Linked DNA regions of Homo sapiens: regions 1, 2, 3 and 4 are each linked to region 5. Evidence: promoter capture Hi-C in human tissues and cell types (Jung and others, 2019). All regions are on one chromosome and are shown on one strand. Each heading gives the region's core, a stretch centred on a gene start or on the middle of the fragment in contact. The rest is flanking DNA. Distances are from core to core; before and after follow the strand shown.

Region 1 (6,030 bases), core at 2,931-5,430, 560 kb before region 5:
AGTTTTTAATCCATGTTGAATTAATTTTTGTACATAGTGATAGATAAGGGTCCAGTTTCATTCTTCTGCATATAGATAGGCAGTTATCCCAGCACCTGCTTTATGGTAATTCTTAAAGTCATGGCTTATAAGCCATCTAACATTGTTGTTCTTCAAAAAATTGTATTGGGAGTGATGTCAGCAGGATGGCTGAATACAGACACCTGGTGTTCATCCCCTCCTCCACAGGAAAGGACTCAGGCAACAAATAAACAGCTAAGATTTTACTAGAGTATGAAAGGGAGAGCACTGGAGTGCAGTGCGGGGATGGAGATGCAGCTGTGGTGGCTGGAAGTACAGGAGGGCAGCTGGAGGCACCTGGCCTCTGAAGCCTGTCTTCTTCATCTGGGTGAGATCTGCTGGAGTCAGGAAGGACTTCCTGCTGCAAGGATAAAGGTAAGCAGAAGATCTCCACCAGTGCCCACTGCCATCACAAACACCTACAATCCTTATAGCAGGTGAATCCAGCAGTCCTCACAAGTCCTGAGACAGGTTTGGAGTCTTGCTGGGAATTCACACAGCTGCATTGTCCTAGATTAGGAGAACAAGGTGTGGACCCCCAACCCTCTATTCATCCCCTGTGAGCCATGGTGCTATAGCATGGCACCATACTGAGACCAGAGCTACTTCTGCAGTGTGCCCTGCTCTGAGGGCCAGTAGCCACTTCACCTCTCCAGCACTTGGGCTCCATCTTCATTCCACCAAGCCCATATGGGAAGCTGAACACCTCAATCCCAGATTCGTAAAGCATGGGCCAAGGATGGGCTGTGGCTCTGGTCCTGTTCTGTTCAGGGTGAACCTGCCCTTGAGCTGGCCAAACTGCTGCATACCCTCCCCAAAGCAGGAGAGGCCCCCAAGCCTGTGAGCAGCTGATATGCTCCAGGGCCAGTGAAGTGGCTATGTGCTTGCACCCAGGAACTGAGAAACAGTCCCACAGCACACCTGCACCCTCCAGAGAGAGCCCTGGCCTGCCCCAGTGGCCCTGTATCCCCATTCAGGGCCTGAGAAACAATTCCTCAGGCCACTCTTGGCAGGTATGATACTAAGCTGACCAAATAGCCAAAAACACCTATCCCAGACCTGAGTATCAGCCCTGTGGGCCAATCCAGGTGGACATGCCCCAGGCTGGCCAAGCAGCCATGTACCCACATTCCGGGCCTGAGAAACAGTTTTTTGGGCTGCTGTTGGTGAGGACACCCCTGAGCCAACCAAGCATCCTTGCAATTGTGTTTCAGACCTAAGAAGCATCATGACCTGAGAAACAGTTTCACAGGCCACTCTTGGCAGGTATGATCCCAGGCTGGCCATACAGCCAAAAGCCCACATCCTACATCTGAGTAACAGCCCAGGCTGACATGACCCCAGGGCAGACATGACCCCAGGCTGGCTGCCTATTGAGTAATTTCTTACGTTTTGCCTCCTCACAAATGAAATGCTATCATTTGTGAAAATATAAATAGAATTGGAGGATATTATGTTAAGTGAAATAAACCATGAACAGAAAGTTAAACACTACATGTTCTCATTCATATTTGGAAGGTAAGAAAACGTTGAACTCATAGAAGTAAAATAGAACAGAGGATACCTGATGCTGGGAAAACTTGGGGGAAGGGAAGGATAGGAAGGGATTTGTTAAAGAATATAAAAGTTAAACTGGATGAAAGGAAGTTCTTGTGTTCTCTACCACTGTAGGATGACTATAGTTAACAATAATATATCATGTAGTTTAAATAGCTAGAAGGAGGATATTGAATGTTCCTAATACAAAGAAATGATAAAAATTTGAGATGATGGATATGCTAATTATGCTGATCTGATCACTGTCTATTTATCAACACCTCATTATATATCCTAAGAATATGTACAATAACTATTTGTCAATCTAAAAAATTAGATAAAAATTGTTTTGTCTTTTCTGGGTACTTTACATGTTCATATATATTTTTGAGTCAGCTTGTCAATTTCTACAACAAAAGCTTGTTGGGATTTTGATTGAGATTATGCTGAATTTATAACTTGTGAAGAATTGATTTCTTTACAATATTGGACCTTCCAATACATGAACATAGTATATGTCTCCATTTGTTTAGGTGTTCTTTAATTTTTTTAAACAATGTTTTGAAATTTCCAGGATTTTTCACTGATTTAGTTAAATTGATCCTTAAATATTTAGCTTTTGATGCTGTTATTTTTATTGAAAATTTCTAATTGTTACATTCTAATACATGAAAACAGTATATATCGTGAAATTTCAAATAAAAATTATATATAGAATATATAATATATAAATATACTTTTTATATTATATGTATGTCATATATTTATATATCGTATATATGTATATTTATTTATATATTATCTATATATTTATATATTCCATATATATTTTTATATGTTATCTATTTATATATATTTTACATATATATTTTACTGGTCAGGTGAATTTCTCAGAGGCAGTTTACAATTTGATCTTTTTAATGTCATATATATATATATATATATATATATATATATATATAAAATTTCTTTTGAGACAGGGTTTAGGGGTTTTGCTCTGTCACGCAGGTGAAGTGTGGTGGCGTAATCATGACTCACTGCAGCCTCGAACTCCGGGACTCAAGCTAATCTCTTTCCTCAGCCTTCCCAGCAGCTGGGACTACAGGTATATGCCACCAAACCTAGCTAACATTTTAAAAAATTTTTTCTTTTGTAGAAACGGGGTCTTGCTATGTTGACCAGGCTGGTTTTAAACTCCTTGCCTCAAGTGATCCTCCCATCATTGCCTCCCAAAGTCTTGGGATTACAGGCATGAGCCACTGCGCCCAGCTACAATATATTTTGGATGCTGACTTTATATCCTGTGACTTTGCTATGGTCGCTTATTATTTCTAGACATTTTTGTTTTTGACAGAGTCTCACTGTTTTGCTTAGGCTGGAGTGCAGTGGCACAATCTTCATTCACTGCAACCTCTGCCTCCTGGGTTCAGGCTATTCTCCTGCCACAGCCTTCAGAGTAGCTGGGACTGCAGGCACGCAACACCATGCCCGGCTAATTTTTGTATTTTTAGTAGAGACAGGGGAATCACGATGTTGGTCAGGCTGGTCTCGAACTCCTGACCTCAAGTGATCTGCCTGCCTCGGCCTCCCAAAGTGTTGGAATTACAGGCGTGAGCCACCATGCCTGGCCACGGTTTTTTTGATCCTTTAGGATTTTCTACCAAGACTGTCATGTCATCTATAATCAAGTACTCTTTTATTTCTTTTTTTCCAATTTGTTTGTATTTTATTTCTTTTTTCTCAAAGCTTATTGTACTGACTAAGATCCCCAGAATAATGTTGAATAAAAGTATTGGAAACAGACATCTTTTCTTGATTCTAATATCTAGGGAGAAAGCTTTCACTATCACATACCATTAGTAATAAGATTAACTGTACAGTTTCTGTAGATGCCCTTTACCAAGTTGAGAAAGTTCCCTTTTATTTATACTTTCCTGGGAGTTTCTACCATGCACTAATGACATTGAATTTTGTCAAATGGTTTCTCTACATCTATTGAGATGATCATATGGCTTTTCTTTTGTAGTCAAATTTAATTTATTGATATGATGAATTACACTTATGGATTCTTTTTCAATGCTCAAATAAATGTTTATTCCCTTTTATTCTTGACATTATTATTTGGTCAAACCAGATGAAATTACAACTATTTGAATTTTTAAAGTAACAAAAGAGCAATTATAAGTAGTATAACAACAACAAAAGTATAAGTCTAGTTCATTTAGCAATACCAGAAACAAATTGGTGGTTACATTCTACTCCGCAAACCGCATAAAGATCAGATCTCTCCCCAAACTAGGGTTATGCTTTAGTGGTATCGGTAATAAAATTAGATGGTATCTCTTTTACAGTTAAATCTATAATTCAGGCAGGGGGAATGAAACTCATTCATTTCCAAGTCACCAAAAGCTCTTTTCTGGGGAGAGTGGGCTACAATATTGATTGAGAACAGGAGAGAAAAAGGAAAAGAGCACACCAGAAGCCCAGAAATCCAACATTAGATAGGGTCAGTGCTTCCCAATAATGTAAATACCAGGTCAATTATCCAGTCACTTTCTTCTCTCTTTTTTTTTTTTTTGAAACGGAGTCTCGCTTTGTCATCCAGGCTGGAGTGCAGTGGCCTGATCTCAGCTCACTGCAAGCTCTGCCTCCTGGGTTCACACCATTCTCCCGCCTCAGCCTCCCCAGTAGCTGGAACTACAGGCGCCCACCACCACACCCGTCTAATTTTTTGTATTTTTAGTACAGACAGGGTTTCAACATGTTAGCCAGCATTGTCTCAATCTCCTGACCTCCTGATCCACCTGCCTTGCCCTCCCAAAGTGCTGGGATTACAGGCGTGAGCCACTGCGCCTGGCCTCTTCACTCTTTCTGAGAGACCTGACCACATCCTTTCAAGGATCGGTATATGGTGCCTCCAAACTGAGGCATTTAAAAAACAAATAAACTTAAAACTCTAGAACAGCTTTAGATTTACGGAAAAATTGTAAACATATTATAGATAATTCTTGTGTACCCCACACCTGGTTTCCCTTTTAGCATCTTACATTGGTATGGTATATTTGTTACAATTAAGGAAACAATGCTGACAAATTATTATTAACTAAACTCCATATTTTATTTGGATTTTCTTGGTTTCTATCCAACATCTTTTTCTGTTTCAGAATCCCACCCATCCTAAGGCATTACATTTAGTCATCATAGCTCTTTCTTCACAGAATTAGAAAAAACTACTTTAAATTTCATATGGAACCAAAAAAGAGCCCATATAGCCAAGAAAATCTTAAGCAAAAAGAACAAAGATGGAGGCATCATGCTAACTGACTTCAAACTATACTACAAGGCTACAGTAACCAAAACAGCATGGTACTGGTGCCAAAACAGATATATAGACCAATGGAATAGAACAGAGGCCTCAGAAAAACGTCACCCATCTACAACCATCTGATCTTCAACAAATCTGACAAAAACAAATAATGGGGAAGAAATTCTGTATTTAATAAATGATCTTGGGAAAACTGGCTAGCCACATGCAGAAAACTGAAGCTGGGCTCCTTCCTTACACCTTATACAAAAATTAACTCAAGATGGATTAAAGACTTAAACGTAAGACCTAAAACCATAGAAACCCTAGAAGAATACCTAGGCAATACCATTGAGGACACAGACATGGGCAAATGACTAAAGCAACAAAAGCCAAAATTGACAAATGGGAGCTAATTAAACTAAAGAGCTTCTGAACAGCAAAAGAAACTATCATCAGAGTGAACAGGCAACCTACAGAATGGGAGAAAATTTTTGCAATCTATCCACCTGACAAAGGGCTAATATCCAGAATCTACAAATAACTTAAACAAATTTACAAGAAAAAAAACAAACAACCCCATCAAGAAGTGGGTGAAGGATATGAAAAGACACTTCTCAAAAGAAGACATTTATGTGGCCAACAAACATGAAAAAAAGCTCATCATCACTGGGCATTAGAGAAATGCAAATCAAAACCACAATGAGATACCATCTCACGCCAGTTAGAATGGCGATCTTTAAAAAGTCAGGAAACAACAGATGCTGGAGAGGATGTGGAGAGATAGGAATGCTTTTACACTGTTGGTAGGAGTGTAAATTAGTTCAGCAATTGTGGAAGACTGTGTGGAGATTCCTCAAGGATCTAGAACCAGAAATGCCATTTGACCGAGCAATCCCATTACTGGCTATATACCCAAAGGATTATAAATCATTCTACTATAGAGACACATCCACCTGTATGTTGATTGCAGCACTGTTCACAATAGCAAAGACTTGGAACCAATGCAAATGCCCATCAATGATCGGCTGGATAAAGAAAATGTGGCACATATACACCGTGAAATACTATGTAGCCATAAAAAAGGATGAGTTCATGTCCTTTGCAGGGATATGGATGAAGCTGGAAAC
Region 2 (6,293 bases), core at 1,782-4,281, 740 kb before region 5:
TCCCAGCACTCGGGAGGCTGAGACAGGAGAATCACTTGAACCTGGGAGGTGGAGGTTGCAGTGAGCCGAGATCGCGCCATTGCACTGCAGCTGGGGAACAAGACAAGACTAAATCTCAAAAAAAAAAAAAAATACTATTCCTAAGACATGAGCATGAATAAAAATGATCTTGAAGTTTAGCATATTAAATTTAAGCTATGTAATACCAAAAGAGCTTTTGTAGAAAGAAAAACACCATATATGTTTAGTAATCCTAGATATAACTTTACTGAAATGTTAGCAGGTGGGAGGACAACAGATCATATAGGGGTGATAGTGGCTGTTTGCTCTATAAAAGGACCTTTAGCTAAGTAGGAAACTTTATGCAGTCTTCTAGATAAATACCTCTCAAAGGCATTATTTTTTAATAATGCTGGACTCTTCCTAAAATCATGTTACTTTCCATTTACGTCTTCCCAGCTACTGTGCCACAGCAGCATAGGACTTTAGGAACAGAAAGTTAAGTTTGAAATGTAAGCTATGATAATAAACCAAAATATGAAATTCTTATACATGAGATTAATTTAATAAAATAGCTCTGTCTCGGCTAATGTGGCATGTTTATACACAATACCACTGAGTGTTCAAGGTCGCACAGTTTGGTTGCCAGTCCACATTCAGTAGCCATTCAGTAGCCATTCATGTCAGGCTTCTAAGTTTCCTGTTTACTACCATGCTCCCTGAGTGTATTTGCAGGTAGTACAGAATTGAACATGAATATTTTATCCTTAAACCAAAACAGTATATAATAGCTCTGAGACACAAGGAGCATTAGTTGACTGCTGTATTAAAATGGTTATAATTAATTGATAGTTATATTTGCATAATTTCAGGGAGTAGAAATTCTGGGATCATATTCGTTTGCCTATTTGGCTGTTGCTTCATTTGATGCTTCATCCAATTTATAAAGGAGTTCTGATTTATTCTATTTTGTGCTAATCATTCTCTGGAAATTATCAATTTAAGTTTACTAAATAGTATCTAAATCTTCAGTTGTAAGTATTCATTTTATTACCATTCTTTTTTTTTTTTTTTGAGACGAGTCTCACTCTGTTGCCCAGGCTGGAGTGCCACATTCTCGGCTCGGTGCAACCTCTGCCTCCCGGGTTCAAGTGATTCTCCTGCCTCAGCCTTCCCAGTAGCTGGGATTACGGGCGTGCACCACAATGCCAGGCTAATTTGTGTATTTTTAGTGGAGACGAGGTTCGCCATGTTGGACAGGCCAGTCTGGAACTCCTGACCTCAAGTGATCTGCCCGCCTCGGCCTCCCAAAGTGCTGAGATTACAGGCATGAGCCACCACTCCTGGCCGCATTTTATTACCATTCTGAAAAATAAGGAGAAAATGTACAGTTGCGATTGCTTTGGGGTTTTTTCCCCCATTTTTTTTTTTGTTTTTATTTCCTTGGAAAGGAAGAGTTTCAACTTTGAAATCTTATGGAGAATTTTTTTGTAGCATAATTTCTCTCTGTGACCTAAGTAATTATGAAATTTTTGTTTACTTCTGTCAGATGATAAATAATGAAGTTATGTTTCTGTGTTTGTAGACCAAGAAAAAACATGTTTGGTTTCATTTCGAAGCTCCTTAGAAAGAATTCTATAGATCCTCTCAACATGATAAAGAAGCTTTGAACAAAATAAATTCAAATTTGGAAGAAAAGGCATGGGACACCTTGAATTGTATTAATTACAGTTGATCTTCATTATTTATAATTTTGTATTTGTGAATTTACCTACTCACTAACATTTATTTGTATCTCCCAAAGGAGTACGCCTGGTGCTTCTGCCGCCTTTAGCAAACATGCGCAAGAGCTGAAAAAACTGTTGTTCAAGGTGCACATTCGCAGCTGAAGTTGAAGGCAAGGCTCTGCCTTCTTATCTTAGCTGTCATTATAAACAAGTGTCCTTTTTGTGGCTTATTTAATGCCACATTTCCCACATGCTTTTTCTTGGTGATTTTAGTGTTTAAAACGGCCCCCGGCCGGGCGCGGTGGCTCACGCCTGTAATCCCAGCACTTTGGGAGGCCAAGGCGGGCGGATCACGAGGTCAGGAGATGGAGACCATCCTGGCTAACACGGTGAAACCCCGTCTCTACTAAAAAATACAAAAAATTAGCCGGGCGTGGTAGCAGGCGCCTGTAGTCCCAGCACTCTGGAGGCTGAGTCAGGAGAATGGCGAGAAACTGGGAGGGAGGCGGAACTTGCAGTGAGCCGAGATCGCGCCACTGCACTCCAGCTTGGGCGACACAGCGAGACTCCATCTCAAAAACAAAACAAAACAAAACAAAACAAAAAATGGCCCCCAAGCCTAGTGCAGAAGCGTTATCTAGTTTTCCTAAGTGTTGTGCCTTATGGATAAAATACATGTTAGATAAGCCTCATTCAAGCCTGAGTTATAGTGCGGTTGGCCATGAGTTCACAGTTAATGAATTAGCAATATGTATTAAATGTCTTTCAGCAGAAACACACATACAGTAAGGTTATGTATTGATCAGTTAATGAAAATATTGTGAATAGAGGCTTACAGTAACCTAACCCTGTAATTCCCTAGGAACAATGGTTCAGTATTGCTAATTCAGTGTTTGCAGAAACTTTAAAGAACATAATTGCCATGAATAACAAGAAGCAACCGTGTTTCTTTTATTTCTGTATGAGATAGACTAACATAGACTATGCTCTTAGAAGAGTAAATATTTTTTCAAAGAAATAAATATCTATTTTCTCCACCTATTTTGAGTGAACAAATAAAGCTGTAGTTTCATCACAAAATCCATATTTACACCAAAACTAGTGATTTCAAATACAAAAACTTATTTTGTGTTGAATTTTTTTTGAATTTGAAACTTTTTGCATATTCAGTGATTCCACATTGCAGCTGAATTTTATTTTACCTAACAATTGCTGCAAGTGACAGGACAGTAATATATCTTTTATAATATTATGTTTCAGTTTTAAAATCTTTATACCAAGATATTATTAAAACTTTTAACACAAATCTGAAAACTTTATACTTTGAAATTAAGTTTTAATTGGTTCAGTCTAAACACTATTTTCAAGAGTTTGAAATCATGGACGAACCCCGCATGAAACTGCATCATATTCTACATCTCTTTTAGAGCTAGTGTTGACAGTTTATTTTCTTTTAATTTTTAATTTTAATTTTTTTTAGAGGCAAGGTCTCACTCTGTCACTCAGGCTGGAGTGCAGTGGTGTGATCATAGCTCACTATAACCTCAAACTCCTGAGCTCAAGTGATCTTCCTGCCTCAGACTCCTGAGTGGATAGGACTACAGGTATGCACCATCGCACCTAGCTAACTTTTTTTGTATTTTGTTGAAACGGGGTCTATGTTGCCCAGTCTGGTCTTGAACTCTTGGTCTCAAGCAGTCCTCCTGCCTCAGCTTCTCGAAAAGTGCTGGGATTACAGACATGAGTCACCATACCTAGCCACATCTTGACAGATTATTAACAATAACACAAAGACCTATTTCATGGAACTGCTATTGGCACCATCCTCAGGCATGCTGAGTTTTAAAATTTTCTGTGAAAGACAACACAGCCTTTTTTTGTTTTCTAGAGTTTTTTGTTGTTGTTGCTGGGTCATTGATATAAAAGAATTGGATTTACAAGAAGAAACAACATAAAAACATGGTCACAATATGAAATAACTAAAGGAGGTGAATTGTGTGTAGAGGCCCTACAAAGCTGTGCAAGTAGCAACATGAACAAATAAGCTTATTCAACAGGCAGGACATCAGAACAGTTTAAGTATCATTAAATAAGCTTTATGAAAGTGCTTATTTTCACTTGATAAAAATATGCTTGTCAAAGTAATATCTAACGTATTGACTGTTAGTTAACTGTTAGCCATGAAATTAACTTTATGTACATTATCTTACTTAACACAATAGCTTTTTGAGCTATAGACATTTTTATCATTATTATTTTTTGCATTGTACATGAAGAAACTAAAGCTCAGAGTAGTCAAGTAACTTTCCCAGGGTCCTGTAAGTAAGAACTAATAAAGTCAGGATTTAAACCCAGGTCTGTCTGACTTCAAAACCCATACCACTATACTCCCTCCATGACTTGCTTTACAACTTATACAATGGATGTCACGTCATTTTGAGAGTTTTAAAGCTTTTCTGACAGTTACACCCATGTTTCACATCCCTATTATGCTAAGGAAGATAGGGAATGGGGGCAGAACGCTACAGACTCCCTTTTCTTTCTCCAAATGCTAAACTCATGATGTTACTCTTTCTCAGAGTGCTTTATCATTACTGTGTTTTTACCCAGGATCAAGAACTGCTTTAAAGGGAAACGAAAGTCCCAAGGGGACAATTTTCAGTATTGTTTAGCAGTAGGAATACAGAAAATAAGGTATAATTTTGCAGTTTTCTTTGTCTGAACTATGTATACATGAGCCTCAACCCTCCAACCTCCCCATTATTATTATTATTATTTTTTAAAGAACCAGCTGCTGGCTTTACCTCTTTCTACCTGCCGGATGCTTTCTGAATCATATTATCCAGTGTGTTCAATTTAAGTGATCCCCATTAAAGTCCGGAGCCTAGGGAAATCACCCTGATTCTTTGTTCCCTAGCAACAGGCCTAAGAGTAGCAACAGCTGCTTAACCATATGCCACTAGAAAGATTCTGTAGGAAAATAGACTGAAATTGTTATAAATGTTTTAAATATTGAGACTTCAGATACTGCAGTTACCATGTTTGATAATTTACCTTTAGTGGTACAAAAACAAAAGAGAATAAATTTAATTATTTAAAATAACAGCTGTGCTAGGTGAGCTCAGCAATTAATGTGATTTCTAGATATTTTCTTGCTAAGTTAAATAGAGGAATAGCAATGGTGAAAATAAAATACTTTTCTTTATGATTAGTAGACTTAAAATGTTCAATTTGTGTCAAAATTAAGTTGTACTTAATGTTGTAATGTGACATGGTACATTTAAACAAATATAAAACTTGTACTTATAATTTTTTGTTGACATTCTCTATTTTTTGTACGTTGATCATTTCTACTGTCTCCATAGTTTTGCCTTTTCCAGAATGTCTTATAATTAGAATCATACAGTAAAGAACTTTTTTAGATTTGCTTCTTTTACTTAACATTAATAATAGGCACTTAAAGTTCCTCCATGTCTTTTCATTGCTTGATAGCTCATTTCTTTTTAGTGCTAAATAATTTCCCATTGTATAGATATACTGTACCACAGCTTATTTATACATTCGCATAATGAAGTACATCGTAGTTGCTTACAGGATTTGAAAATTAATTACCAAAACTGCTTTAAACATTCACGTGTAGGTTTTTGTGTGGACATAAGCTTTTAATTAGGTAAATACCTAAATAAAAAGCTTTTAATTAGGTAAATACCTAAATAAAAAGCTTTTAATTAGGTAAATACCTAAATAAAAAGCTTTTAATTAGGTAAATACCTAAATAAAAAGCTTTTATTTAGGTAAATGATTCAGCTAATGCTGAATCATACAAAGTATGTTTAATTTTTAAAGAAACTACCTGTCTTCCAAAGTGGTTGTATCATTTTGCATTCCTACATTCTTGCCAGCATTTGGTATTGTCACTGTTTCGGATATACTCTTTTAATGGGTGTGTAGTAGTATCTCATAGTTATGTTATTTTCAGTTCCCTCACGACATATGATGTTGAGCATCTTTTCATGTGCTTATTTGCCATTTGTGTATTTTCTTTGGTGAGGCGTCTATTCAGATCTTTTGCTCATTTTTAAAGTGGATTATTTTCTTACTGCTGAGGTTTAAGAGTTCTTCACATATTTTGGATGCACAGTCTTTTTATCATATATGTGTTTTGCAAAGATTTTCTCCTGGTCCGTGGCTTGTCTTTTTATTTTCCCGATATTCTGTTTTTTTTTTTTTAAGAATTTTATTTGTATAGCTTAACCACTGATTTAGGAAAAAATACCATGGTGTCGTGTGTAGTAGGGAGAGAAGGGTTATCTTTTGTGCCTTCTTTTCAAAAACAAATGTGCCTACATTTTAAAATTATTAATATGTTTCTTCTCTTTGTACCTCCCCACCATACCTGTATAGCTTAAGCTGCTGGGATTCCAAGCAGTGCAATATAAGGTGGGGGAAGAGTTAAAAATTATCCTGGACTATTTTTTCTGTTTTAATCAACAAATGACCGAATTTAGTGGCCATTACCCAAATAATAGCCAATGGTTTAGTAAATAAATGCGTGGATTATACCTT
Region 3 (5,613 bases), core at 1,521-4,020, 550 kb before region 5:
CAGAGTAACAGTGGCTTAAAATATGTTTATTTCTCTTCAACCTAGTATCTCAAAGTAAGGATTTCCAAGGCTTGCATGACTGCTTTGCTCCATTAAGTCATAAGGGAACTATATTCACTGTACATTGTGCCCAGGTGTGGTGGGCTGTCCTCAAAAAGATCTTAGGCCTCAAAAGATATCAGGTCCTGAGAATCTGTAAATGCTACCTTATTTGGGAAAAGAGTCTTTGCAGGTGTGATTAAACTAAGGATCTTGAGATGGGAAGGTTATGTTGGATTATTCAGGTGGCCCCTAAATGCCATAACCTATATCCTTATAAATGAAGGCAGAGAGAGATTTTATAAACACACACACACACACACACACACACACACAAACACACTGAAGGCAGAACAAGTTTGAAGATGCTGTACTTGAAGACTGGAGTGATGTGGTCACAAGCCTAGGAGTTCCCGTCTTGAATTCTGAGTTCAAGGAATGGATGGATTCTCCTCTAGGACCTCTGGAAGTAGTGTGGCTCTGGATACCCGGATTTTGGCCCAGCAATCTGATTATTTCTTGCCTCCAGAACTGTGAGATAATAAATTTTTGTTTTTTTAAGTCATCAAGTTTGTGGTAATTTCTTATAGCAGATACAAACGGTAATACCCTAGGGAATGGTATATATTCTCCATGTTCAAGAAAACCAAATGTCTCATTCACCTTCTAAGCAGGACTGTGTAGAAAGAGGAAGGCATTTATTCATTCATTCACTTCTTCATTCAACAGATATATATATGGGGAGCCTGTTATATATTCGACATTGTTGTGGATGTTTGGAATACATCTATGAAAAACACAAAGACCCCTTTCTTCTTGGGACACATATTCTAGTAGTTGAAGGCAAATATAAATAAACCATAAAAATAAGCACATTTTACTTTAGAAGATGAAAAATTCAATAGAAAAAAAAGTAGAGCAGAGTAAGGGAGATTGAGAGGGCCATGCAGAAGTTGGGGTGAGTTGCAGATCTAAATAGATTGATCGTGGTAGGGGTTGTTGAAAAGGTAGGATTTCAGCAATGACTCAAGAGGGTAAAGGTTTGCCAGTAGATTATGAGGAGGAAGAGACTTCCATGCAAAAGAAACAGCTAGAGCGAGGACTTTGAGATGTGGGAATGAAAATGCCTTTTATGTTTAAAAACAGAAAGAGGCTAGTGTGATGGAGCACAGTGAAAATGGTAGAAGATGAAATCAAAGGCAAGGAGGCGATGATCCAGGAGGACCTTGCAAGTTATAGTAAGATCTTTGGCTAGTCTGATGGGCAGGCATTGGGTGGTATAAGCTGATAAGTGGCATAATGTGATTTAACCAGTAAAAGTGTCATTCTAGCTGCACTGTTGAGCATTCTGTGGGGATCAAATATAGACTCAGGGAGACCTATCAGGGAATTATTGTAGCAATCCAGAAAAGATATTATAGTGATTCGGATCAGAGTTGTAACAGTACAGATGGAGGGAAATGGTTGATTTCTGGACAAGTCTTGAAGATAGAGCCAACAGTTTCTGACAGGAATAAAAGATGACTCCAAAATTTGGGGTCAAACAACTAAAAGGTTGGCATTTTCGTCAAGTAAGATGGAAGTGATATGGGTGGAGTGAGATTTTTGTTGTGGAGGGGGAGGGAAGGACCAGGGTTTCAATATGGTTTGAGCTGTTAGACATCTACGTGGAGATGTCCAGCAGGTATTTGAATATATGAATCTGGGAGAAAGGTTTGAGAGGGAGATATTTTGTGAGACTTTTGCTTCCAGCAATATCAGACAAGCTTATTTCAGACCAAAAGTCCTACCAATAATAACTAGAAAATCTAAACAAAAATTTAAAGTAATTGTCTGAAGGTGTTGATTATCTACCAAAGCAGCAAATATTCAGGAGGATTTCTTTAAGCAGAAGTGAAATGATCCAGATGGAACCATGTAGCTGCATTAAGAAAAACAAGCAAAATAAAGGGTAAATATTTGAGTATATAGAAATGAAAATTAATTGTATAAATTGCTTTAGGAGTGTTAAAGCAAACTAAATATGGCCTGAGAAGGACTCTGTACTTTTATATTTGAGTTCTTGTGGACAAACTGCAACCTAACTTAGTAGGTAGACAAGATTGAAACCCTAACTTTGGAGTATGTGCCTGTAACAGTGGCTGAGTCTTGGTCAGTCTTATCAGCCATATTTCAACCATAAGCTGCTGAGTGTTCAAACTGTGTTCAAATAAGGTAAACACCAACCTGCAACCAATCCAGCTGTTTCTGTACCTCACCTCTAATTTCCGTACATCATTTTTATTTTTGTCTATAAATTTATTCTGACCATGAGGCATCCCTTGAGTCTCTGAGAATCTACTGTGATTCTGGGGGCCTGCCTGATTCACAAATCATTCATTGCTCAATTAAACTCCTTTAAATTTAATTCAGCTGAAGTTTGTCTTTTAACAGGGGGTTTGAAATATATGTCAATTTAAAATACATAAGAATAATTGTACAACAAGTAAGCTAGGTAATTGCAGTTATATTATTTTCAGCTTCTAGCAATATCTGGAAAGTGGTAAATGCTAATTTATATTAGATTTTAATAAGTCAAGGATTCATGCTGTAATCTCTGACTAATGACTAAAAATATTAATGTTACCAGGAAGAAACAGAATGATAAATAAGATGAGACAAAATATTTAATTAACCATAGAGAAAGTAAGAGAGGAGGAAAATGGAATGTCAGACACGTTGGATGCAGAAAAATAAATAAAAAGCAAGGCATTGATTTAAATCCCAATACAGCAGGAATTATATTAAATATCAATATAATAAAGACTCTAATTAAAAGGCAATAATTGTCAGACTCCTTAAGAAATTCAACTATGTAATACTTAATAGATACATGCCTTAAAAAAGGAAAAAAAAGGATGGAAAGTCACACACAGTACAAACTAACCAAAGGAAATCTGATATATTTAAATGAATGACAAAGTTGATTGTGGGCAAGAGACATTACTAGAACTGAAGAAGGACATTTTGGAATGATAAAATTTTCCATTCAGTAGAATGACTTATGAATTCTGAATTTGCATGTACTTAATACATAGCCTGAAAATTCATAAAGCAAAAATTGATGTAACTAAAAGGACAGCAGAATATCCACAATATATTTGAAGATTTTAGCAAACATCCCTCAATAACTGATAGAACAGGCAAGAAAAAATTATAGGGTTATAAACACAATTAAGTTACTTGATATAATCAATAGATACAGACCACTGTACACAGTAACCAAAGAATGCCTATGCTTTTCAAATGTATTTTAAACATTTGCTAAAATTCATCATAAAAATACTAAATTTAAAAAGATTAACTGGAAAATCTTCAATATAATCCCCAACGTAATTTTGCAGAAATATATGGGGCAGCAAAACATAATTGCAATTAGAAGATATTTAAAACTGAATAATAATGAAGATATGATATATAAGTACAAGCATACTTTATTTTGTGATGCTTTGATTTATTGCACTTTGCAGATATTGTGTTTTTTACAAATTGAAGGTTTGTGGCAACGCTGTGTTGAGCAAGTCTATTGGTGCCATTTTTCCACTGGCTTGTGCTCCCTTTGTGTTTCTGTGTCACATTTTGGTAATTCTTGCAATATTTCAAACTTTATTGTTAGTAGTATTATATCTGTTATGGTGATCTGTGGTCAGTGATCTTTGATGTTTTTATTATAACTGTTTTGGAGTACCACAAACCACACCCCTATAATACAGCGAACTTAATCCATAAGTGTGTGTGCTCTGAATGCTCCACTGACAGGCTGTTCCCCTATCTCTCTCCCTCTCCTCAGGCCTCTCTTCCCTGAGACACAAAGATATTGAAATTAGGCCATTTAATAACCCTACAATGACTTTTGCGTGTTCATGTGAAAGGAAGAGTCACATGTCTTTCACTTTAAATTAAAAGCTACAAATAATTAAGCTTGTGAGGAAGACATGTCCAAACTTGAAATAGGCTGAAAGCTAGGCCAAACAGTCAGCCAATCATAAATGTAAAGGAAAAGTTCTTGAAGGAAATTAAAAGTGCTACTCCCGTGAACACACAAATGATATGAAAGCAAAACAGCCTTATTGCTGATATGGAGGAAATTGAGTGGTCTGGATAGAAGATCAATCCAGTCACAATATTCTCTTAAGCCAAATCCTATACCAGAGCAAAGCCCTAACTCTCTTCAATTCTGTGAAGGCTGAGAAAGGTGAGGAGGCTGCAGAAGAAAAGTTGGAAGCTAGAAGAAGTTGGTTTATGAGGTTTAACGAAAGAAGACGTCTCCATAACCTAAAAGGGCAAGGTGAAGCAGCAAGTGCTGATGGAGAAGTTGTAGCAGGTAATCCAGAAGATCTAACTAAGGTAATTGATGAAGGTGGCTGAACTAAAGAACAAATTTTCATTGTAGATAAAACAGCCTTCTACTGAAAGAAGGTTCTAGTCTGTGGTATGGTGGCTCAGACCTGTAATCCCAGCACTTTGGGAGGCAGGGGTGGGAGGATCGCTTGAAGCCAGGAGTTTGAGACCTGTCTGGGCAACAAAGTGAGACCCTGTCTCTGTGAAAAATACAAAAGTTTCTATGGAAAGTCAAAGAGCCATGAATGTCTAAGACGATCTTAAAATGCTAAATAAAGTTTGAGGAGTCATTTCTCTTCTGTAAGTTAATATAAAGTTAATACGATTGAGACAGTGTAGAATTTAGGCAGACATACACAAATATACCAAAGGCACAGAATAGACAGTTCAGAAACAGACCACACACATAAGGATAATTAATTTATAAAAAATTGACACTGCAGGGCAGTGAAGAATGATTGTACTTGCAGTAAACTGTACTACATCAATTGAATATCAACATGGGAAATAAAGTTATCATTTAATCTCTATCTCACATTCTTTAGTCAGAGTTCTCCAAAGAAATAGAACTAATAGGAGATATATGTATACACACATATGCATGTTTATACATATATATTTATAAATTTATTATAAGAATTGGTTAATACAGTTAAGGAGGCTGAGAAGTCCCATGATCTCCTGTTTGAAAGCTGGAGACCCAGGAAAGCCAGTGTTGTATTAAATAAATGCCAGTCTGAGTCTGAAGGCATGAGAACCAGGAGCATCAATGAAGTAAGTCCCAGTCCAAGGGCAGAAGATCCATGTCTCTCATCAATGAGTCAGGCAGAGAGAGAACTTTTATATCCTATTTTTGACCCAGAAGGCACTGAAGTAATATTGTTAAATAAATAATAAATGCTTAGATGAGAAAAAAATAACTTCTAAAAGTTCGTTAGACAAATAATGTGCTAACCCTTCAGGAAAAAAATTGACAAATCAGACTCCACTAAAATTAGAAAATGTTATTAATCTAAACATACGATTAAGAAGATACTACAGAAATTGCCAGATGACAAAATGTTTTAGGTGTTTCAATATCTTGGTAGAAATTCATATTGCTTTAAGAATTTGGGCAGAGATTGAGATTTAACCTAGCTAAAACATTTAATTAATTGTAAAACAACAGATTCCACTGCAAGGAGGGTATTTATC
Region 4 (5,940 bases), core at 708-3,207, 520 kb before region 5:
TTCCATACCTTTGCTATTGTGAATAGTGCTGCAATTAACATGTGAGTGCCTGTGTATTTATGGCAGAACAATTTATTTTCCCTTGGGTATATACCCAGCAATAGGATTCCTGGGTCAAATGGTAGTTCTGTTTTACGTTCTTCGAAAAATCTTCAAACTACTTTCCACAATGGCTAAACTAATTTACGTTCCCACCATCCACATGTAAGTGTTCCTTTTTCTCCATAGCCTTGTCAGTATCTGTTATTTTTTCACTCTTTAATAATAGCCATTGTGACTGGTGTGAGATGGTGTCTCACTATGGTTTTGATTTGCATTTCACTATTGATTAGTGATGCAGAGCATTTTTTTCATATGCTTATTGGCTGAATTTATATCTTCTTTTGAGAAGTGTCTGTTCATGTCCTTTGCTCACGTTTTAATGGGGTTGTTTTTCGCTTGTTGAATTGTTTAATTTCCTTATAGATGCTGGATAAATTGGACCTTTGTCTATGCATAGCTTGTGGATATTTGTGAATATTTTCTCTCATTTACAAGTGAGTTTTGATGGAAGCATTTAAGGCCTTGTATTCTCAGCCTACGCTCCTTCTGGTAGAGCTTCTCTGTTAGTGGGGGTTGAGAGGAGGAAGGGAGATAGATTCTTTCAGCCATGTCTGTCTGGAATATTGCTTCTGAAATATGGAACAGAAGATAGGGATGAAAAATGCTAGTGGTCTGTCCCTCCCAGCATGAAACCATATCTCTGTGTGGGAAGCAAGGTGGAGAGAGACCCCTACCTTCTTGGCTGCACATGCCAAGAGTAAAACTGTTAACACACTGAGCTGGAGGAAGGAGTTATGAGTGGGTCATGGCTCAAATGCCACAGATTCTCACTGATCATATTAAGATTTATTAAATCTTTTTGAATATATGTTTCTTCATTTGCTATTTGAAGAAGATTTCTCCTTGGCAAATTTACAGAAACTTTAAATATTTGTTTTAAAATAATTTTTAGCCGGTAAATTTTTTGTTCTTGGGAAATTATGTGTCATACTCTCACACCATCATTTCTGAAATGAATTTTACTACAGTTTTTAGATAAGTTTGTTTTGTCTGGTTAGAAAACTGTTCCTGTAGTTTTGACTCAGAACTTTAAAAAGTCAGTAATGAATGTGATTTGAGGATCAATGTTATATTAGTTTTATAAAAAGGGGTCCAGTTTCAATTTTCTGCATATGGCTAGCCAGTTTTCCCAACATCACTTATTACGTAGGGAATCCTTTCCCCATTTCCTGTTTTTGTCCAGTTTGTCAAAGATCAGATGGTTGTAGATGGGTGGCATTATTTCTGAGGCCTCTGTTCTGTTCCATTGGTCTATATATCTGTTTTGGTACTAGTACCATGCTCTTTTGTTTACTGTAGCCTTGTAGTACAGTTTGAAGTCAGGTAGCATGATGCCTCCAGCTTTGTTCTTTTTTCTTAGGATTGTCTTGGCTATATGGGCTCTTTTTTGGTTCCATGTGAAATTTAAAGTAGTTTTTTCTAATTTTGTGAAGAAAGTCAATGGAAGCTTGATGGGGATAGCATTGAATCTATAAATCACTTTGAGCAGTATGGCCATTCACACAATATTGATTCTTCCTATCCATGAGCATGGAGTGTTTTTCCATTTGTTTGTGTCCTCTCTTATTTCCTTGAGCAGTGGTTTGTAGTTCTCCTTGAAGAGGTCCTTCATGCCCCTTGTTAGCTGTATTCCTATTTATTTTATTCTCTTTGTAGCAACTGTGAATTGGAGATCATTCACAATTTGGCTTTCTGCTTGTCTATTGGTGTATAGGAATTCTTGTGATTTTGCACATGATTTCATAGATGAACTCATGAAGGTGAGAAAGAATCAATGGAAAAATGCTGAAAACCCAAAAGGCCAGAGTGCCTTTTCTCCTCCAAATGATAGCAACAACTTTTCAGCAAGGGCACAAAACTGGATGGAGGATGAGATGGATGAATCGACAGAAGTAGGCTTCAGAAGGTGGATAATAACAAACCTCATTGAGGTAAAGGAGTATGTTCTAACACAATGCAAAGAGGCTAAGAAACTTGATAAAGTTTAGAGGAGTGGCTAACTAGAATAACCCATTTAGAGAGGAACATAAATGACCTGATGGAGCTGAAAACACAGCACAAGAACTTTGTGAAGCATACACAAGTATGAATAGCCAAATCGATCAAGGGGAAGAAAGAATATAAAAAATGGAAGACTATCTTGCTGAAATAAGACAATTGGACAAAATTAGAGAGAAAAGAATGAAAAGGAATGGACAAAAAACCTCTGAGAAACATGGGACTATGTAAAAAGAACGAAACTATGACGGATTGGAGTACCTGAAAGAGATGGGGAGAATGGAATCAAGTTGGAAAACACACTTCAAGATATTATCCAGGAGAACTTCCCCAACCTAGCAAGGCAGGCCAACATTCAAATTCAGGAAATACAGAGAACTGGACCCCTTCCTTACGCCTTATACAAAAATTAACTCAAGATGCATTACAGACTTAAACGTAAGACCTAAAACCATAAAAACCCTAGAAGAACTCCTAGGCAATACAATTCAGGACATAGGCATTGGCAATGACTATGACTAAAACACCAAAAGCAATGGCAACAAAAGCCAAAATTGACAAATGGGATCTAATTAAACTAAAAACGGCTTCTGCACAGCGAAAGAAACTATCCTATAATCAGAGTGAACAGGCAATCTACAGAATAGGAGAAAATGTTTGCAATCTATCCATCTGACAAAGGGCTAATATCTAGAATCTACAAAGAACTTAAACAAATTTACAAGAAAAAAAACAAAAACCCCATCCAAAAGTAGGTAAAGGATATGAAGAGACACTTCTCAAAAGAAGACATATATGCAGCCAACAAACATATGAAAAAAAACTCATCATCTCTGGTCATTAGAGAAATGCAAATCAAAACCACAATGAGATACCATCTCACACCAGTTGGAATGGTGATCATTAAAAAGTCAGGAAACAACAGATGCTGGAGAGGATGTGGAGAAATAAGAATGCTTTTAGACTGTTGGTGGGAGTGTAAACTAGTTCAACCATTATGGAAGACTGTGTGGCGATTCCTCAAGGATCTACAACCAGGAATACCATTTGACCAGGCAATCCCATTACTGGATATATACCCCCAAAATTATAAATCATTCTACTATAAAGACACACCCACTCATATGTTTATTGCAGCAGTATTCACAATAGCAAAGAAATAAATGAAATTGAAAATAGGAAATCAATAGAGAAAAATCAATGAAACCAAAAGTTGTTTTTTTAAAAGATCAATAAAATTGATAGGCCTCTAGCCAGCCTAACCGAGAAAAAAGAATACAAATCATTCATAGCTGAAATGAAAGATAGGGTATCATTACAGGTTCTATAGTGATTAACAAAATAATACAGTAATATTATGGATAACTCTATGCCTACAAATTTTATAACATAAATAATATAGACTAATTTGTTGAAACACACAACCTGCCAAAACTCACCCTAGGAGAAATAGACAATCCGAGTGGGCCTATATCTGTTAAATAAATTGAACTTAATTAATAATTAATACTGAATAATTTTCCAAAACAGAAAGCACCAGGCCAGATGGGCTCACTGGTGAATTCTACTAACGATTTTAGGAGGAATTGTACTAATTCTATATAATTTCTTTCAAGAGATAGAAGTAGAGGAAATATTTCCTAACTTAATCTATAGGCCAGCATTATACTAATACACAAAGTAGGCAAAAATATTATTAGAAAACTACAGACCAATTTCTCTCATGAACATAATGCAAAAATCCTTAATAAAATATTAGCAAATTGAATCCAACAATGTATAAAAAGAATTATATATCACAACTAAGTGGGATTTATCCCAAGTATGCAAGGCTGATTTAATATTCAAAAATCAATTAATATAATCTACCACATCAATAGGATAAAGAAGAAAATCACTTGACCATATTAGTAGATGCAGCAAAATCATTTGGCAAAATCCAGCACCTATTAATGATAAAAACTCTCAGTAAACAAAGAACGGGGGGGATCTTTCTCAACTTAATACAAAATATCTACAAAATACCTACAACTAACATCATATTTAATAGTGAGAAACTTGAAGATTTTTCACTAAGATCAGAAACAAGGCAAGAACGTCTCACCACTGCTTTTCAACATCATATTAGAAGTCCTAGTTAATAATCCTAGTCAATAAAACAAGAAAAAGAAACTTGTAATCAAATGCGGTCCAAAAATATTATACATTGAGGGAGAGAGAGAGCACACATTCATATAATTTTTATTACACTATATTGTTATAATTGTTCTTTTATTACTAGTTATTGTTAACCTCTTACTGTGCCTAATTCATAAGTTAAACTTTATCATAGGTATGTACATACAGATAAAACATATTACCTGTAGGGTTAGGTATATCCAGGCTTTCAGGCATCCACTACTGTACATGGGACACCTCTGTACTTTTCATCCAATTTTGCTTTGAACCTAGAATTGCTCTGAAAAACTAAAATCTATTTTTAAAAAAGTCATGTTACCCACTTTTGAAAATGTTTCAAATTGCTGAAATAAATATACCTTTTCCACTTATTGGCTTCAAGGTGCTTTTGTTATTTTTGTTGTTTAAATCATTTATGTCTTATTTTGTCAATTTGTGGGTATAATAAAAACTCTCACTGTGACTATGAACTTGTCAATTTCTCCTTGCAATTCTGACAATTTTTCTTTAAGTAGAAATCTATTTTGGATGATAACATTGTGATTTATTTTTCTTTTTAAAATAATGGAATGCCACTATTCATAGTAATAATTTTTTCATTTTAAGCTTATTTTGTCTGATATTAACATTGCTGTATCAAACTCATCTAATATCTGCATAATATATTTTTCATCACTATATTTGCAAATTTTCTCTGCAGTTTTGTTTTAGTTGCAATTGTGTGTGTATGTACATGTATTCAAGTGTGTGTGTTTTGTAAACATCATGCAGTGGATTTAAAAAAATCCATCTGCTAATCTCTTACGGTATGCCAGATTAATTTACTTGAATTGCTTATATATTTGGACTTCATTGCATCAATTTACATAAACTTCATTATATCAACATCATTATGAATTTATTATATTGACTTCATTATATCATTTAATATATCAACTTGTATCTGTTTATCAATCATTTGCTGCTTCTCTCCCCTCCTTTCCTGCTGTATTAGTTTGCTAGTGTTACCATAACAAAATAACACAGGCTGTGGAGCTTAAACAACCCAAATTTATTTTCTCACAGTTATGGAGGGTAGAAGCCCAAAAGTAAGATGTTAGCTGGTTTGATTTCCTCTGAGGCATATCTCTGTGGTTTGCAGATGGCCACCTTCTCCCTGTGTCCTCACATGATCTTTCCTCTGTGTGTGTGCATTTCTGATATCTCTCTTGCTTGTCCAAGTTTTCTCTTTTTATAAGGGCACCAGTCACACTGCATTAGGACCCCGCTCCCATGATCTCATTTTAACTTAATTAGGGCCCCACCCACACGACCTTATTTTAACTTAATCGGCTCTTCAAAGGCTTTATCTGCAAATACAGTCACATTCTGAGGTACTGTGGCTTAGGTCTTCCGCATATGAATTTTGGGAATCAAAATTTATCTGATAATACCTGACTTATGTTTGCTTGACAGTGTTATACTCAGTTATTTTTTCTGTGTTTGGAAGTTATTGATTGCATTTAATGGGCACACACAAGATTATAAACTTTTCTAACAAGTTAAACAATGCAAAATGTCTCTTATTTGTTCCTTCCTTCAAGATTTACTTTTCATTTTGCTGTTTTGTTCTTTTAAGAAAAAGCCTGTGGTAGATACTTTCCTTTATCCTATTTCAGAAAA
Region 5 (5,448 bases), core at 1,186-3,685:
ACCATGTTGTCCATTTCCTTTACCACTTGCAATGCTATCTGGAGCCACGAGGTAATTCATTCATTTTTGTTTGTTTGTTTGTTTCAATTAAAAGCATGAGAAAAGCTAAATGTGGCAAGTTCTGAAGCTTTCAAAAGTGAGGCCACTCACCGCTGGTCTCTGGTGGACAGAGCATCTCAATCCCTAACTCAGCCCTCCTCTGGACTCTTCTTCCTCCCTTCAATTCCCAAAACTCCCTTTGGGTCTTAAAGCAGCCAACCAACTAATTTCCCTGAATTTTTATATGTTCCCAGCCCCAGTGCAATCTTACTTTGTCTACCTGCTCCCAAGGCCTAAATGTGTTTTTATAAACAGACTTTTCAAAAACGTATCAAATGTCAGAGAATTGAACTACCAGTATTTACACATTCGGGGTTTGCCTCCGGGTGAAAATGTAAACAGAACCCCCAACCACACTACCTGCATTCTTTCCTTGAAGAACCAGGTCTTTAAAAGGCTCTCCTTGTGCTAAAAAATTGCAGACCCACGCAAGTTGGGGGTTTAGAGCAGTAGGTCACTATTTTGTTCCGAGCTCAACTGCAAGCCCCTGGCGCTTACCAACGAGCCTAGTTTCAGTTAATCCCTATTCTAGGTTCAATGCTTTAAGACGCTTGTCTGGGGACGTTCAAGGATGTTAACCCCTTTCCTAGAAAAAGAATGGGCCCTGCACCGACTCTAATCCTGGGCTTTTAAGTCCCTGTCTCCTACCGCCCAGCCGCGGCAAACCTGAAATATATATATTTCTCAATCCTGCTGCCCAAGACTCTAGGGCTAGTGGAGGGCAGAGCCCGAGCACAGAGTCAACTGCAACACCGAAGTTGGGCGCCCTCCATTCGCACTGACCTCGCCTTCCTGCCCCAACCACTTTGTCGGCGGTGAGCAAGGAAAGGACTGTCCTTGTGGAGTCCTTCGGGTGGGGATCGCTTTGTGGCCTGCGGCCGGACTCTGCCCGCCTCCAAAGGGCGATGCTCAAGGTGGAGTCTTTGGTCTCCCTTGGGCTAACCTGGCCTGACCAGCGGCGAGCCCCAGGCCGCCCTGTCCCGCGCTGGCGCCGCAGGCCCTCGCCTCCCTCTAATTTACAGCCCGCGGGCTCCTGTTGACACCGTTTTCCACACCGAACTCCTTCGGGTGGAATCTGCATATACACATCAGCCTCCCCTCTCGGCTTGGGGCCAAGCCTGGGGTGATTTCAGCTCCTGCCATTTACCACCCGCCCTCGCCGCACGTGAGCCTTCTCAAGAAGCTCATGCCACACGGGCGCTGCGGCCCGGGTGCCCCGCGGCCCGGTGACTTACAAGTGGAGATCCATTTTCCGTTATAATGCGTTCAAGATCACCAAGGCCAGCAGTCTCAACATCCACGAGCCGTCCTCCCGGCCTGCCTCTTAAACTGGCGTTTAATGGTTCCCCTCCGATAACTAAACCTGCTTTCCACAGATGCCCGCTTTTATGAGGGAGGCAGGAATGCAGAGATATATTTATATGTTTGTTCATAAAAACTGGAAAATAAGCTCTGAACACGCCGTAAAAAATATTCAGTTACTTACCAAACAGGCTAGTTAAACCAGGGGAACACCGATACCAGCCACACTACAGATTCGGGGAATCGAGGTGCCCGCACTTCAAAATCGCCCAAGGTCTTCGTAGGGACTGGTGTCCCTGAAGGATGTGGAAATAACAGCATTTACAATCGGCTTGACATGTTCGCCCGGAGGACTCAGCCGTCATCTCCAAAGTTTGCCGCAATAACGTGAGCCACCCCAAACAGCTCTAACCGGGGTAACTTGGTGGGTAACTCAATAGCCACTGAGACCGGCGTTTCGAGCCTGTAAACGGGTCAAAGAAACACCCTTCTCCAGCCGCTCCTCGTCCCTGCTGGGGCAAAGAGCGCCAGCTCCCAGCCGCGCCTTTGTGGGGGCCCCCACCGCCCGTCACGAGGCTCCCGGCGCCCCTGCATAAAATTGTAAGAGGCTGCCTGCGTATATTTTCTTACCTCGATTACCTACAAAGCACTTCGAAAAGCAATACCTGCGTTTTCTTTCTTTCTTTCTTTTCAACCAGAAAAGAGAGCAGAGTGATACTGTACCTGGTTAGAGATTCTTCAATATTTGAGACTTGGGGGGAAAATATTTTAATAGTGAAGCATCTGTTAAACACTTGCATTATCCTCTGACTGATAAAAAAAGTTTTTTTAACCCTGCCCCCCCCCCCCGCCAAGTTTTAATTATCTTATGGTTATGAGGAGGTAGCCAATCCTGGAAGAGGACCTCGGCAATTAGCAACGTGAACATCAAAAAGTTTTATTGCCGAGAGCTCGAGGCGCCGCCCCTGCCGCCCCGGGATTGGCGTGAGGAGCCTCTGACGACATATATTAACCCGAGCGGCCCTAAAGATGTAGCTGTACATGGAGATCTTGCTGGGAAAATCCGCTTGCTCCCCTCACGTCGTCCAGCCCAGGAGAACCACCGCCGTCACCCCGGAGCTTCCTCGGCCACCGCGCAGAGCCCTCCGAGAGCCCGAGCCGCGGTCTTCGAGCTCCAAGGCTCATTCAGGGCCCCAGATCCTTGCCCCGAAAGGAGAGGATCTGAGAAAATGGATGCACTGAGACCTCTCTGAAAACCCTCCGAGAGAGCGCGAGAGGAGCGAGGACACGTTACTCGCAGCTAAAATCACATTTAAGGACCAAAACAACAACAACCAAAAATTTCATTAAAACAATAAGCGCCCAAGAACCCAGATCGGGCTGGTGGGGGGAGGGGAAGAGGCGGGAAGGGGAGGGTCGCACGGAGGTAGCTTTGCAGTGAGCAGTCGACCCCGCCGCCCCCCGGCACAGCTGGACCGGCTCCTCCAGCCGCGGCTCAGACTCGCCCCTGGATTCCGGGTTAGCTTCGGTGCCAGGACCGCGGCCCGGGCTTGGATTCCCGAGACTCCGCGTACCAGCCTCGCGGGAGCCCCGGCACCTTTGTATGAGCACGAGAGGATTCTGCCTCCGCGCAGCAGCCCGGGAAGCAGGAGCCGAAGCGCGGGCCGTGGAGCAAGGCGGGAACCGGAGGCGGCGGCGGCGGCGGCCAGGGGCGCACGGTGCCAGGACCAGCTCGCCGCGCCCCATGGGGAGCCGGCGGCCGCAGCGCTGCTGAGGCGGGCCCGGCTGGCCAGGCGGGGGGACGGGGCCCGGGCTGCAGCAGCCCCCTCTGCGGCTGCCGGGCGGGCCCGGGCGCCCGGGGGCTGGGGGGTGGGGGGTGGGGGAGGACGCCGAGCGCTGAGGCAGGGGCCCGGGCCGAGGGCGCGGCGGGGCTGCGCGCACGCTGGGGCGCGTGGAGGGGCGCGGAGGGCGAAATGAGTCTGGTAGGTGGTTTTCCCCACCACCCGGTGGTGCACCACGAGGGCTACCCGTTTGCCGCCGCCGCCGCCGCAGCTGCCGCCGCCGCCGCCAGCCGCTGCAGCCATGAGGAGAACCCCTACTTCCATGGCTGGCTCATCGGCCACCCCGAGATGTCGCCCCCCGACTACAGCATGGCCCTGTCCTACAGCCCCGAGTATGCCAGCGGCGCCGCCGGCCTGGACCACTCCCATTACGGGGGGGTGCCGCCGGGCGCCGGGCCCCCGGGCCTGGGGGGGCCGCGCCCGGTGAAGCGCCGAGGCACCGCCAACCGCAAGGAGCGGCGCAGGACTCAGAGCATCAACAGCGCCTTCGCCGAACTGCGCGAGTGCATCCCCAACGTACCCGCCGACACCAAACTCTCCAAAATCAAGACCCTGCGCCTGGCCACCAGCTACATCGCCTACCTCATGGACCTGCTGGCCAAGGACGACCAGAATGGCGAGGCGGAGGCCTTCAAGGCAGAGATCAAGAAGACCGACGTGAAAGAGGAGAAGAGGAAGAAGGAGCTGGTCAGTACCAGGGGGCGGCAGGCGGTGGGGCTGAGGGGGTCAGGGAACTGGTGCTCCCGGCCTCTTTCCAATTGGGCTGAGAAATGGCATCTCGTGTTCTTTGGCTGCGTCCCGCTTCAAGGTTGTTTGCACCAGGTTGTGTAAGGATGGCTTCCGGCATAAGCAGAGAGTTGAGGGGAGGGTGTCAGCAGGAGGAGGAGAAGGTTAGGGATGCTTTGCGCTGGTGATCTTACCTCCGGGTTATCGCTGCTCCCCTAGTACTTAGGACGGACCTTGAAAACTCTGGGTCGCGATCGATCGCGATCGCACTGGTCTGGATGCCTCACCCCGTCTCTGTTAGACCCTTCTTTTGGCCTCCAATCCAATCTTGCTTTCAGATGTTTCCAGAATAAGTCTCGAAGAAGCCCTTGATTCCAATTATTTCACTATTGATCGCACCCCCTACCCCACTCCCAGAAGGAGGCTGCCAGAGACTGAGCCCTGAGTTTTGTGGTTGTTCTCATACTATGCCCGGAAAACGTAATGGTAAACATAAAATAAGTACTTTTGACTTCAAAATACAGCTCCAATTTTTCCTTGGCTATGACGTTAAAATGTAATTTCCCAGATGAGTATATTCCATTGGCATTTCTAATTTTATTTGAATAAGCCTGTACATTTTAAGGGGGAAAAGGCATTACTATGGTCATTGTTATTAAAAATAACACGAAAGTAAATTGAGCCGCTTAAAATTTTCTCAGATTCCTACCAAGTGCCCACAGGGCAGTGGTGCAGGATAGAGCTATGTCCACGAAGGGCCCGGAAAATAATTGCATTTGTCGAATTTTTCTTCTTTGGCCCCTGCAGCCCTTTGGTGGCTGCATAATCGAGTGACCTCCCGAATAACCAGAGATTTCAGAAGCCTTGGAGGAGAGGCACTGCTGAGCTGGAGGCCGAGAGCCTCTGGCCGAGAGGCCCAGGCCGAAACAGAGGCTCCTTCGCCCTATTTTTCCTAGATGTGGATCTAGGATTGCTAATGAAAACAGAGAAACCAGACTTAGCGCCGACTCCAGCTCCCGCCCCTACATCTGGAGTAAGAGAAAAGGCCCCCCGCTCCTCCATAAACGACTCGAAAACGGGCGGTTGTTTATAAACTTGTGGATCCGGTTGTTGAGCGCTGCAGCGCCGAGGCCTCCCCGCCGGCTAGGGTAGCGCTAACCTTGGTAGCTTCTCTGCAGGGGCTGGGACTCCCCCATCGTATCCTTTCCTCTCTGGTTCACTGTCTCCTCCGGCGCAGGAAGCTCCGGGTTGGTGTGGAACCAGGTATCCTCTCTGAATTTCTCTTTCCACTTTTCTCGCCCTCGCCTTTCCTCTGTCCAGAACGAAATCTTGAAAAGCACAGTGAGCAGCAACGACAAGAAAACCAAAGGCCGGACGGGCTGGCCGCAGCACGTCTGGGCCCTGGAGCTCAAGCAGTGAGGAGGAGGAGAAGGAGGAGGAGGAGAGCGCGAGTGAGCAGGGGCCAAGGCGCCAGATGCAG

The links. Contacts are between HindIII fragments. The study calls those that stand out against the background at their distance.
Region 1: a fragment that was not itself captured here is called in contact with the fragment with the promoter of HAND2 in region 5 in 1 of the 25 tissues and cell types used here (bladder).
Region 2: a contact is called between a fragment that was not itself captured here and the fragment with the promoter of HAND2 in region 5, in 3 of the 25 tissues and cell types used here (dorsolateral prefrontal cortex, mesenchymal stem cells and spleen).
Region 3: a contact is called between a fragment that was not itself captured here and the fragment with the promoter of HAND2 in region 5, in 3 of the 25 tissues and cell types used here (dorsolateral prefrontal cortex, lymphoblastoid cells and mesenchymal stem cells).
Region 4: a contact is called between a fragment that was not itself captured here and the fragment with the promoter of HAND2 in region 5, in 1 of the 25 tissues and cell types used here (spleen).

The regions. Positions count from the first base shown.
Region 1 is chr4:174,092,028-174,098,057 of GRCh38, reverse strand. LINC02268 (long intergenic non-protein coding RNA 2268) reads left to right here. Exons shown (of 5, transcript NR_125896.1): 3 at 229-435; 4 at 1,275-1,326; 5 at 2,605-3,398. Among named protein-coding and RNA genes, the nearest start is that of LINC02268, 130 kb to the left of the region's middle. The HindIII fragment of the contact is 3,001 bases long and covers 2,680-5,680 here.
Region 2 is chr4:174,264,460-174,270,752 of GRCh38, reverse strand. All of the region lies in intron 1 of FBXO8 (F-box protein 8), which reads left to right. Among named protein-coding and RNA genes, the nearest start is that of FBXO8, 16 kb to the left of the region's middle. The HindIII fragment of the contact is 4,929 bases long and covers 567-5,495 here.
Region 3 is chr4:174,074,524-174,080,136 of GRCh38, reverse strand. It overlaps LOC107986204 (a long non-coding RNA gene), which reads left to right. Exons shown (of 3, transcript XR_001741466.1): 2 at 4,264-4,402. Among named protein-coding and RNA genes, the nearest start is that of LINC02268, 140 kb to the left of the region's middle. The HindIII fragment of the contact is 4,370 bases long and covers 586-4,955 here.
Region 4 is chr4:174,047,144-174,053,083 of GRCh38, reverse strand. No RefSeq gene overlaps it. Among named protein-coding and RNA genes, the nearest start is that of LINC02269, 150 kb to the right of the region's middle. The HindIII fragment of the contact is 8,130 bases long and covers 1-5,940 here.
Region 5 is chr4:173,527,216-173,532,663 of GRCh38, reverse strand. HAND2 (heart and neural crest derivatives expressed 2) reads left to right here and starts at 2,435. Exons shown (of 2, transcript NM_021973.3): 1 at 2,435-3,929; 2 at 5,289-5,448. The coding sequence starts at 3,375. The coding sequence ends at 5,387. HAND2-AS1 (HAND2 antisense RNA 1) reads right to left here and starts at 2,293. Exons shown (of 5, transcript NR_136196.1): 1 at 2,125-2,293; 2 at 1,586-1,697. The HindIII fragment of the contact is 12,639 bases long and covers 1-5,448 here.